Linked DNA regions of Homo sapiens: region 1 is linked to region 2. The links are contacts of gene promoters, found by promoter capture Hi-C in blood cells and fetal thymus (Javierre and others, 2016). All regions are on one chromosome and are shown on one strand. The core of a region is centred on a gene start or on the middle of the fragment in contact, and the rest is flanking DNA. Distances in the headings are between cores, read along the strand shown. Region 1 holds the start of OR8U1 (olfactory receptor family 8 subfamily U member 1). Region 2 holds the start of OR5T3 (olfactory receptor family 5 subfamily T member 3).

Region 1 (5,917 bases), core at 2,502-5,001, 120 kb before region 2:
TTTGGAAATATTTTGTTGTGATATGTTCCACAGGTGGACTAATTTGTTAACGAGTTTGAAGCACTTGTCAAATGAAACATGACTGTCCTCAAAACGGACAAAACCAACTTAACAAAATCATCCGCAAAATTTAAGCGGAAATCATGACAAATCTTTTTCTCCTATATTAACAGTTATATAACAAATCCTCAGTTTTAACCTGAAAATTTTAAGCTTTAATTGTGATTGGATAATTTTCCAAATGTTTAGCTTTTTCAAGTTAGGTATGAAATTGTAAAAATTACAATTAAAAAATTTTTCACTCAAACAAAAGTTTTTAATCATAATCTTTTTTGATTTTGGGACAATTAATTTAACAGCTGATATATTTTTATCTTCATACTGCTTCATTTTATGAATTTAATAGTTGATATTTTCTTCACCTCATTTTACTTTTTATATTTCATACTTTCTTATAAGATCAGGAAACTAGAGTATACATAAATAGAATAAACTGTTGAGGACTTCCAACTCAGCAAATGTTAGATTTAGAGCTCACATTCAGGCTTTTATTCCCCAAAATATCTACGCCCTTTAGTAGAATGGCTGATGCACAGACAATGTACCAGCCTGCTAAGATAAGAGGTTATGCTTTTTTTTTTGAGACAGAGTCTCGCTCTGTCACCAGGCTGAAGTGCAGTGGAGCGATCTCTGCTCACTGCAACCTCCGCCTCCTGGGTTCAAGTGATTCTCCTGCCCCAGCCTCCTGAGTAGCTGGGACCACAAGCATGCACTACGACGCCCCACTAATTTGTAATATTTTTAGTAGAGATGGGGTTTCACCGTGTTGGCCAGAATGGTCTTGATCTCTTGACCTTGTGATCTGCCTGCCTCGGCCTCCCAAAGTTCTGGGATTACAGGCGTGAGCCACCACGCCCAGCCAAGAGGTTATGCATTTAAGAACATTAATTATAACCTTTCAATATATAGATGACAGACTTAACATCTTCTGCCAGAGCTTAATCCTATGTGAGACAATAGGAAGGCACTGAAATGTTCAAGTAGTAGATACATGTGTTTAAAGAAAAAAGGAGGAAATAAACTTTTGAGAACTGTGGGTCATGCTACTCCTATGTCTCTACAACCTCACAAATATATAAGAAAATTATTGAAAATGGACACTAACCTAAAGCAGGTTATTTAAGAATTATTTCTATTTTAATATAATCTCTCAGTGGGCATTAATAGTATATTTCTAATCTTTTGCCATTAAGTATGGAAACAGGCTACAGATGAAAAAAAGTGAAGCAAAAATATTAAATGATAGGCATGATTCATAAAATCAAATCTTTCTTAGGCTAAATGATGAAAACACATGAGCACATAGAGGGGAACAACACACACTGGGACCTTTCAGAGGCTGGAGGCTGGGAGGAGGGAGCCAATCAGGAAAAATAACTAATGGGTTCCAGGCTGAATACCTGGGTGATGAAAAGATCTGTACAACAAACCCCCTGACACAACTTTACATATGTAACAAACCTGCACTTGTATCCCTGAACTTAAAATAAAAGTTAAAAAGATACTTTAAAATGATTACTCTCTCTCTCTCTCTCTCTTTCTCTCTCTCTCTATTATCAATTTATCAGCTGTGGTGTACAATAATCTTCATTTATAAATTGCTCCCTCACGTTTATGTGACTTATAATTAGTAGACTAGCACTCAAGTCTGCAGGTTCATAGAAGGAAGGGAAATGATACTCAAGTGCCTACCATGAATTATTACCCCTTTCCATATTGCTTAGTCCTATAAAAGTCTCTAAACTGAGTAACATTATTCTCATTTATCTGATGAGTAAACTCATAAGAGCATACCTAGAGCACAATGACATGTTTGGGATCTAACCACATACTTTGACTATAAGGCATGTGCTTATTCACTCGGCTACATTGCCTACTGGGTTCATTGAGTTATAAGCTATACCTTAATAAATAATGACCAGCTTACCTGAGCTTTGCTGTGCACAACTGTATATAATCCTTGTTACTGGAAAAATGATTTATGATGTTTCAATGACTGTGAATATATTTGTTTGAATTATAATGCCCTCCCCTCCTCCCTCCAGAATTCTATCCCTGAGTTACATTATTTACATTTTGGGAAAAAGTATAATGAGATCTTGTAGGCATAAGAAAAGCAGTTCTCTTAGAGAGTTAGTCTTCAGAGACAGAACAAGACTTCCAGGAAGTAGAAGGTACATTCAGTCAGTAACATAGGTGAGGTTAGAAAGCAGTACTCTTTGTATTAATAAAGACAATATGTTAAATGCATAAATATAGGACATTTTTATATTGTCATGTATTTTTTCAAAAAATTAGGAATTGAGAAAGAAAATGTTTAGACTATGTGTCTTTATTTTTCACGTGGGATATTGTAAATACAGCTTCAGAATCCTGAACTGGGGATGGACGGGGAGAGGAGTTAACTTTTGTCTGTGCTCTGCACATAACTAATTATATATCTTGATGATGACTTTTTATGCATTCTTCATTTGAGAAATAGGAAAATTGGTATAAAATATTATGCAAGAAAATTAATAATTTTAATATATTTTCCACTTGAAAAATAAGAGAAGTGTTGTAAATTCTTATAGTTACTTTTATACCTAACGTTCTAAGAGAAATTCTCTAGAAAATTGTATTACACAGCGAAAATATATGTATACATCACATATTGAGAAACAAGGATCCTGATAACTTATACTGGGAAAAAAATCATACCATGAAAGAAGTCCATTTTTCCTTACTCAAGTTACTTTCTTAATTTTATAAACACAAAACTCTAGTTTTTATTGATAATGATTTTCTTCAGAGCTTCTTTCACCTCCTTATTCTGGAGGCTATAGATTAAGGGATTCAACATGGGAATGATCACTGTGTAGAAGACAGAGGCCATCTTGTCTGTGTCCAGGGCATGGCTAGAGCTAGGCTGTAAGTACATAAAAATGAGGGTCCCATAGAATATGGTGACTGCCAGCATGTGAGAGCCACACGTCGAGAAAGCCTTCTGTCTTCCCTCAGCTGAATGCATCCTCAGGATGGCAGAAATGATGAACATGTAGGAGACAAAGACAATCAGAAGGGAGGAAATGAACATGATACCAGCACAGGCAAAGATCCAGAGCTGTTTGAAGCGAGTGTCTGAGCAAGTTAGCCTGAGGAGAGGCATGTCATCACAATAGAAATGGTTGACAATGTTGGAGTGGCAATAGGAGAGGCGGAAGGTGAGGATGGTGTGAAATAGTGCCATTAGGAAGCTATAGCTATAAGGAACTGCTACAAGTTGAATGCAGATTCCTGGAGTCATTACAACCATATACAATAGAGGGTTACAAATGGCCACATATCGGTCATAGGCCATGGAAGCCAGTAGCAAGGATTCTGATATCATGAAGGTGAGAAAGCAGCCCAGTTGAGTAGCACATGCATCAAAGGATATAACATTTTGTTTGTACAAGAAATTCCCAAGCATTTTGGGTGTAATGACAGAAGAGTAACAGAAATCCACAAAAGCTAGGTTGCTAAGAAAGAAGTACATTGGTGTGTTGAGACTTGTATCCGCTCTAATGAGTAGGATCAAACCCAAGTTGCCTACCACTGTGAAGAGGTAGATGGATAAGAATAGCACAAAGAGGGGCATCTTCAACTCCTGATGGTCTGTGAGGCCCACAAGAATAAACTCTGTCGCCTGGGTGCAATTGATGTGAGCCATATCTTTTCTGGCCATCTAAATGTGGAAGTAGAGAAAAGAGTTAAGTCTAAGTCATATTTTAATACTGTAAATCCTATATGTGGTGTTTTTATATTTATTGTATTGTAAAGAGTTTAATTAATTAGATTTATTTATTAATTTATTTAACTAATATAATGATTGTTAGCATACTGGAATTCTGGAAATGTGATGGAGAGCAAAAAGAATATAACACCGTATAAACATCTTTATATCTAAAGCATGAACTTACATGAATGTAGGGAATGAATCCTCACATAATCTTATCCTGTAAATTAGAGTAAAATTGATATTTGCTTTCTAAGAGATTTGGAAGTTTATGTTTCTTTACATTCAGTTTATGTCTGCTTTTTTATCTTTTATTAAAAAACTGATTTAATTACATTTTTTGCATTAATTTTTGTTTTCCTACTCTATTTAATGTTGTGTATCATCATTTTCTTATTCATTTTGGATAATTTTAAAATTGAATTATTGAATACCCAAATAGTATCAAATATCATGTCTCTCAACTCCTCTTTCTTCTCTCTCCCACCATTATATCTAGTAATGGAAAATAGAGCTTTCCTTAAAAACTTATAAATTTCACGCTTTGAAAATTACTATGCAAATAAATATATAAATAAAATAAGAGCCTGTGTTTCTTCACTGTTCTTCAGAGTTTACTAATAGCTCTTGAGTATTTACTTCTGCTCAATTAATCAAAGAATCCATTTCAGTTATTTGTGTTTTGTATTAATAAACATATTTATTGAGCAACATAATGTGGTAAGTAGTAACTTTCAAAAAATACTTATTTACCTTAATTTTATTCTAAATAAATTATATTTATTATATGTATAAGATACATATTAGATATGCAATATGTAAGTATATACTAGATATCCTAAAACCCTAATACAGATGGAACATTAATGTCTAATTATAGCAACATGGAAATTGATGGATAAGGACATAGGAACCCATAAATTCCAAATCTCTAATTGCATGTTAAAAACTGAACGTCAATTTTGAGTTAAAATAGGAAAAAGAAAAGAGAAAAGGGAGGTAAGTAAAAAGAGAATTTTTGGTCTTTGCACTGCTCAGACCAAACCCTTCTCAAGAAGACTAACTTTCAGACTCAAACTTTTTTATGACAAACTATAGAAATAAATACTTGTTATAAGATGGCATGGAACTAATAGATATATTGAGAATAATACTTTTGCTTCCCTGACATCCGCTTGTATTACATATTCTTTCGTTTTCTAGCGTAATCTGTTCCATTCTATTTAATTCAAACAATGCTTCTTGGGATCCTAAAAAGTGGATTTAAGATCTACTAGTAGTTACAAGCACAGTTTCAAAACCTACACACTAGTCCCCACACACTGAACCATTTTCACTAACATGAGTAGATAAGCAACTTACCTTTAACAGTTCCTAGCTATACCACCCACTGTAATCTGTAACCAAGACTGAACATTCTATCCTTAACATTTTCCTGGATTTTGTCTAACTGCTACTCTTGTAGAAGGTTATTTCAATTCATTCAGTTCTTTATTCAATAATATATAGTGGGGACTATTAATTTTCAGAGCGTGCATAGAGTCTGAAGATAGAGCAGTGAAAGAATAGATAGTAGTCCAGGCTGGAAAGAAAGCAAGCGTTATCCAACTTTACCCTATATTTCTGGTCTCTTTTCTTATCATTCGTTTTTCTCCACCTGTAAAACACAAAACCCTGAAACGTGTGCACACAAACTATTTTACTTTGAATCCAAAGGAGAGCATGCATTATATTTGAAAGGACATGTGACTTTTTATAGTATCATCTCTGAATATTTTTATTATCCCGGTTCCACTCAACTCTCCAGTCAGCAGGAGCATCCATTGTTTCAATTAATGATTGGTCTCAATTTGTCAATAACAAAATGCCTTTCCATACTTCTCTATTTTTAATCTTGCCATTCCTAGTTTCTTTCTTTACAGAAAAATAGACAGTGAAAATGGAAACTCCTACTTATCTTTCAAGCTCTGCTGAAATATCACACTTCTATGAAGAGCTACTTAATTTTTCCTTCCCATGTTAACAGCTTTCATATTTGTCTTCCAAAAACATTTTAGACATACCTAATCTATATTTCATCTCTTATTACAACCATCTGTT
Region 2 (5,360 bases), core at 2,624-5,123:
TCAGGACTTACTTTTCCTGTTTAATTGTTATTTTATATCAATCAACCAACCTCATTTAATTTGTCTCCACTACCCTGTTTAGCTTCTGATAACCACTTTTCACTTACTTTTTACTTCTATAAAATCAAGTTGTTTATTATTATTATTATTATTATTATTCTACATATAAGTGAGATTGTGCAGTATTTGTATTTCTGTGCTTGGCTTATTTCACTCACTTATTCATCCATGTTGTCATTAATGGCAGGATTTCATTCTATTTTATTTCTCAGTAGTATTCCATTGTGTGTGTGTGTGTGTGTGTGTGTGTTTGTGTGACATTTTCTTTATGCATTCATTTGTAGATGGGCATTTAGGTTCATTCCATATCTTGGCTACTGCAAATAATGCTGCCATAAACATAAGAGTACGGATATCTCTTTGACATACTGATTTCTTGAAACTTCTACATCTCAATGAATGGAATGAATGGCCAAATCAGTGGAAACCACATTTTCAGTACTTTTAAAATGCATTCCTTTTTCTTCTTATTTCTGCCACAGACTTAATGAGGAGCTTCAGTATTCTCAATAATGCTCTCTGGAGGATAACTAATAAAGTTGGTAAAGTGAAAAGATAAATCTGTTCTTTCACTCCATGTATAACAAGCTTAAAAACAGGAACTCTGTAACCAGACAGCTTAGATGTGAATCCTGACATCACCCTTTAGAGCTATGTGGCATTGAGCAAATTCCTTAAAATTTATGTGCTGCTGTTTCCTCAACTTTGTTAAAAGATATTACTACAACCACTTCCTGAAGTTATGAGAATTACATAAGTTAATATAGTAAAAACTTTTACATGATTGTCCAGTACCTGATAAGCATATGTTAATTATTAGTATTAAATATAATTCATTCATGTACTCACTATTTATTTAATAAATATTTTGTCAGCAAACCATAAGTTCTAGGTACTCTTTTAGGACTCAGGGATACAATTTTGAGGACAAATATGCCCAATGCATGTTTTTATGCAAGTTACAATGTCAGCATCATGGTAGATCTGGATAATATATTATAAAATCACAACATCACATGCTAAATGGCAACTGTGATAAGTGAGAGAGGCTCCATGGGGTCATAGTGAGTCAAATCATTCTTTTGGGGGGAAAGGTAATTGAGCTGAGATATGTAACAAAATGTTCTATTGACTTGAGAGTTAAATATACCATTTTTCTCACCTTGACCTGAACAAATAGCAGGTCATTCGAGACTGCTTATTCACACCATTTGTTTTCTAATCGATTAGGATAAAAAGAGAGATAGTGAACTTTTCATGATGGTTAACTTGACAAGTTCTGAATGAGTTTGTTGAATGCATTGTTAACCAGATATTTTTAGGCATATGTCAGTGCATCATTTTACCTAATGCTCGCCTATTCCTTTCTCAAAGAATGACTATTTTTGCTAATTTGAAAGAGAAACAAAACAAAAAAAGAGATAGCAACCTTGACTAAAACGTTACCTAACAATTTTGACACCATAATTTGAAAAACCCTCAAAAAAATAAATGATTCTGGAATTCTGCAGAAATTTTAAATTTTGTGAGACAGCTATTTATTTAGACACATTTTTGAAGCATATTAAATTTTCTTCCAGAACATTCTCCCCAAAAGATCATACACAGGAAACTACATTTTAAGATTCTGTAATTCAAATAGCTTATTTTTTTAAGAAAATTTTGTCTACAGTGTAATCAGGGTTTTGTATCTAAAAATAGATTTATTTTTTTAAGAGGAAATTTAGTACAGATTTTGACTGCAAGCATTTGCTTATTCAAAAAAAGAGGGTTGGGTTCTCTTTGCATAATTGATTAGTAAAGATTAGAAACTGATGTCTGAAATTTTCAGTGTGGCTACTATGTTATGATTGGATCATTCTGGTTAATTCACATAAAAATATCCTTGGAGGGACAAGTGTGTGTTTTTTGAAAAAACAATTAATTTCCACTTTTAATGAATCTTCAAATAAATGTTTTAACAAAACTTACTAAAGCAGAATACGTAAAGTAAAGCCAGATGTGAGTAGAGGTAAAGCAAAATAATTTCCATTCTGTGGGCTTGCTCACTAGGTGTAAATTTTGTGGAAGGATGACATTGCAGTCATTTCTTACAGGTAAAGTAGATAGAAGATAATGGCAGGACTACGAAGTGAGCAAGGATATGCTAGTTTGTCAGACCTTAGAGCAGTCATTTATACATATGTCATAGTTTCATTCCTGGGGTATAGTGTTTCCTGAGCCTTCAGAACACTCTCAATAAATATTAGCATTCACAACCAATATAGTTTCACAATGACTACAATCAGCTTCTGTGGTTGAAAAGGGGCAAGGAAAGCATTTAATTGTGGAAAGAATTTATGATGTAGATATAAACACAGCAAAAGGCATGTTTGGAAGCTTGAGTAGATCTCAGTTTATGAAGGCACATTTAGGGAAAGTAAAGTAAAATTTGGATATTTCTTCTTAGGGCTTATAGATTGAGGAAGTAACTCCACAATGAATGCAAAAACTTTTTATCAGCCATGTAAGCATTTATCAATTCCCAGGATTCTGTAGGATTCACTTACTAGTTATAAGTGTGTAACTGATTTTTACTTACTGTGAAAGCTGTTGTTAGTAGTGTGTGGTTGGTAACAATAACAATATATTTATATCAAATAATATTTAATATAGATCTCTGAACAAATTAATTGGCAAATATGTGATGCAATTTGTTTACATTTGAAAAATGCTGCATTGGCAGGCTGCTTAATGCTTTTTTGAAACTATTCTTTGATATGCAAATACTTTAACTAAAATATAGAGATGTGAACTCTGACACTCAACATTTTTTTCAGGTTTACTCAATTTTAAATATATTCTTCATTTGTAAACCAATTTCAACATTTTCTTCACTGCCTTTTTTACTTCTTTGTTCCTCAAACTATAGATGATGGGATTCAACTTGGGAATCACAATTGTGTAAAATATTGACACTATGATGTCATGGTCTGAAGCATAGCTGGAACTTGGTCTCATATAACTGACGAGAATTGTTCCATGATAAATTGTCACTCCAGTTAGGTGAGAGCCACATGTAGAGAAGGCCTTTTGCCTTCCCTTAGCAGAATGCATCTTCAGAATGGACAACAGAATGAAATCACAGGAAATGAGGACAATCAGGATAGTGACTATCTCAATAGAACCCACAAAGTAGAAGAGTAGAAGCTGGTTTGTGTGAGTGTCAGAACAAGAAATAGCAAGGAGAGGAGGCATATCACAAAAGACATGCCTAATTTCATTGGATCCACAGAAGGACAGGCTAAATGTAGCCACTATATGTATAGTAGCATGTAAAATGCCAGCAACGTAGGAAGCAGTGATGAGTGGCACATAGACTCTGGGTGACATGCTCACTGAATACAGGAGAGGGTTGTAGATGGCTACATAGTGATCATAAGCCATTGCAGCCAAGAGAAAACATTCTGTAGTTCCAAAAGTAACAAAAAGAAGCATCTGTGTTGCACATCCGATAAATGAAATGGATTTATTTTTTGCCAGGAAATTGACCAACATTTTTGGAGTGACAACTGTAGAATAGCAAGCATCCAAGAATGATAAAACACTAAGAAAATAATACATGGGGTTGTGGAGCCAGGAATCCTCAATGACCAACACAACCAGCCCTAAATTGCCTATCAAGGTAAAGAGATAGATTGCAAAAAATAGTAAAAATAGGAAGACTTGCAGCTCAAAATCATCTGTGAAGCCTGTCAATATAAACATGGTGACTTCAGTCTTGTTCTTCAGTGGATTCCTGTATATATCCAAACCTGATGACAACTTGTCCATTTCAGTTTTTACTTGCAGGTTATAAAGGTTATAGCCTGTGAAAGTGGAGTCCATTCAATTGTATCCTTGTTTTTTTCTTGGGGCATAATAATTTCCCTGATAGTAATGGAATAGACAATGATGAAGTAATTGGAGCCAAATAGATGAATTTCACTGTATAAGTAAAAGGAAAAAAAATATGTAATTAATTTCTTGGCTAAATTTATCATGTTTTTAAAAAACCCTGCTAATTAAAGTGATTTTATTTTCCAGTTAATTTTCAGTTGAAATTTTTACTGCTTCCTCTCATATTATGTCCTAAAGCTCACAAAGATTGCTGAATGTAGAAATATTTAAAACTAAATATGTTATAGTGGAAAGCACACACTTGAGTACACTTTTAGATTTGTGATGAAGTACATGAAATGTCTTTTGTAAATGTTCACAATTTTAAAATAAGAGAAACCACACTCACAGCACAGTTGAATTTAAATGTTTAAAAATATCAAAACTATTTAATTTAAAAGGCTTCCAAATGACTAGAAAATGGGGATAAGTCAGACATACATTTCAACTTGTCGCATGCAGCAGCCTTTTTAAATAAAACCATTTCATGTCCTCTGTTCTGGCAATTATCTTGTTCCATTACATAGAAGAGCAGACTGTATTCTGGAGATAGACGTACCTTTACAAACATTACAATGTGTTTTATTTTCAGGATTTTTTCTTCCTGAAATATATATCACCTAGTTGGCAAATTTTGGCCTCTGTACCTTGTTTATCATAACTGTTTTTAAATTTCAACTTAATAACAATGTGAGATATATCTTACTAATAATTCATATGTTTGTTATTTTTGCAAAGTCCTTGGATGTATTTTATTTTATTTTATTTTATATTTCTGTTAAAAATAAATCATGGCCATTCTTTTAGTATATTATAGTTGCTTTTAGAGTTTCTAAAATTACTATGAAATAAAAATCACCAATAATAACTAATAAAAATTATAGAATATCTGGCTAAAAAATAACATTACTATATTTGCAAGAAAGTAGTGTTTGTCCTCTGGACTTCTTTCCTGATGGTATCATTCTGTTTCACATTGACAAGTATGAAGAAAGACAATTACACAACCAAAAATAAATAAATAATTAAAAGAAAAAAGGTAACAAGGTTACAGGGACTTCTGTATCTAGACTGAAAACCTGTTATTGAAACGGTTTAGTACTACATACACTAAATTTAGAGGTAAAATTAGAGGGGAGATTTAAGCAAGGTGACTTTGTTTTTCTTTTATCATGTCATAGATTATGAAAGTTTTAAAAGGGGTGACAACTCTGTCATATGCAGGTCCATTCTGAATTCAGTGACTTACAAATGATTTATATTCATGATGTGAGACATACCAAAATTTTGTCATGTTAAGATGACCACACATTAAGAAGAGAATGAACAAATAAGACTAAAACCACTTTTAGAAAGAAAAAAAAAGGCCAAGTGTTTATATA

Evidence for each region. Contacts are between HindIII fragments. The CHiCAGO score rates a contact against its expected background, and 5 or more counts as called.
Region 1: a contact is called between the fragment with the promoter of OR8U1 here and the fragment with the promoter of OR5T3 in region 2, in 1 of 17 cell types (neutrophils). The highest score is 5.8, in neutrophils.

The regions. Positions count from the first base shown.
Region 1 is chr11:56,373,458-56,379,374 of GRCh38, reverse strand. It overlaps OR8U1 (olfactory receptor family 8 subfamily U member 1), which reads right to left and starts at 3,751. Exons shown (of 1, transcript NM_001005204.1): 1 at 2,822-3,751. The coding sequence starts at 3,751. The coding sequence ends at 2,822. The HindIII fragment of the contact is 6,958 bases long and covers 216-5,917 here.
Region 2 is chr11:56,250,767-56,256,126 of GRCh38, reverse strand. OR5T3 (olfactory receptor family 5 subfamily T member 3) reads right to left here and starts at 3,873. Exons shown (of 1, transcript NM_001004747.2): 1 at 2,905-3,873. The coding sequence starts at 3,873. The coding sequence ends at 2,905. The HindIII fragment of the contact is 3,630 bases long and covers 2,442-5,360 here.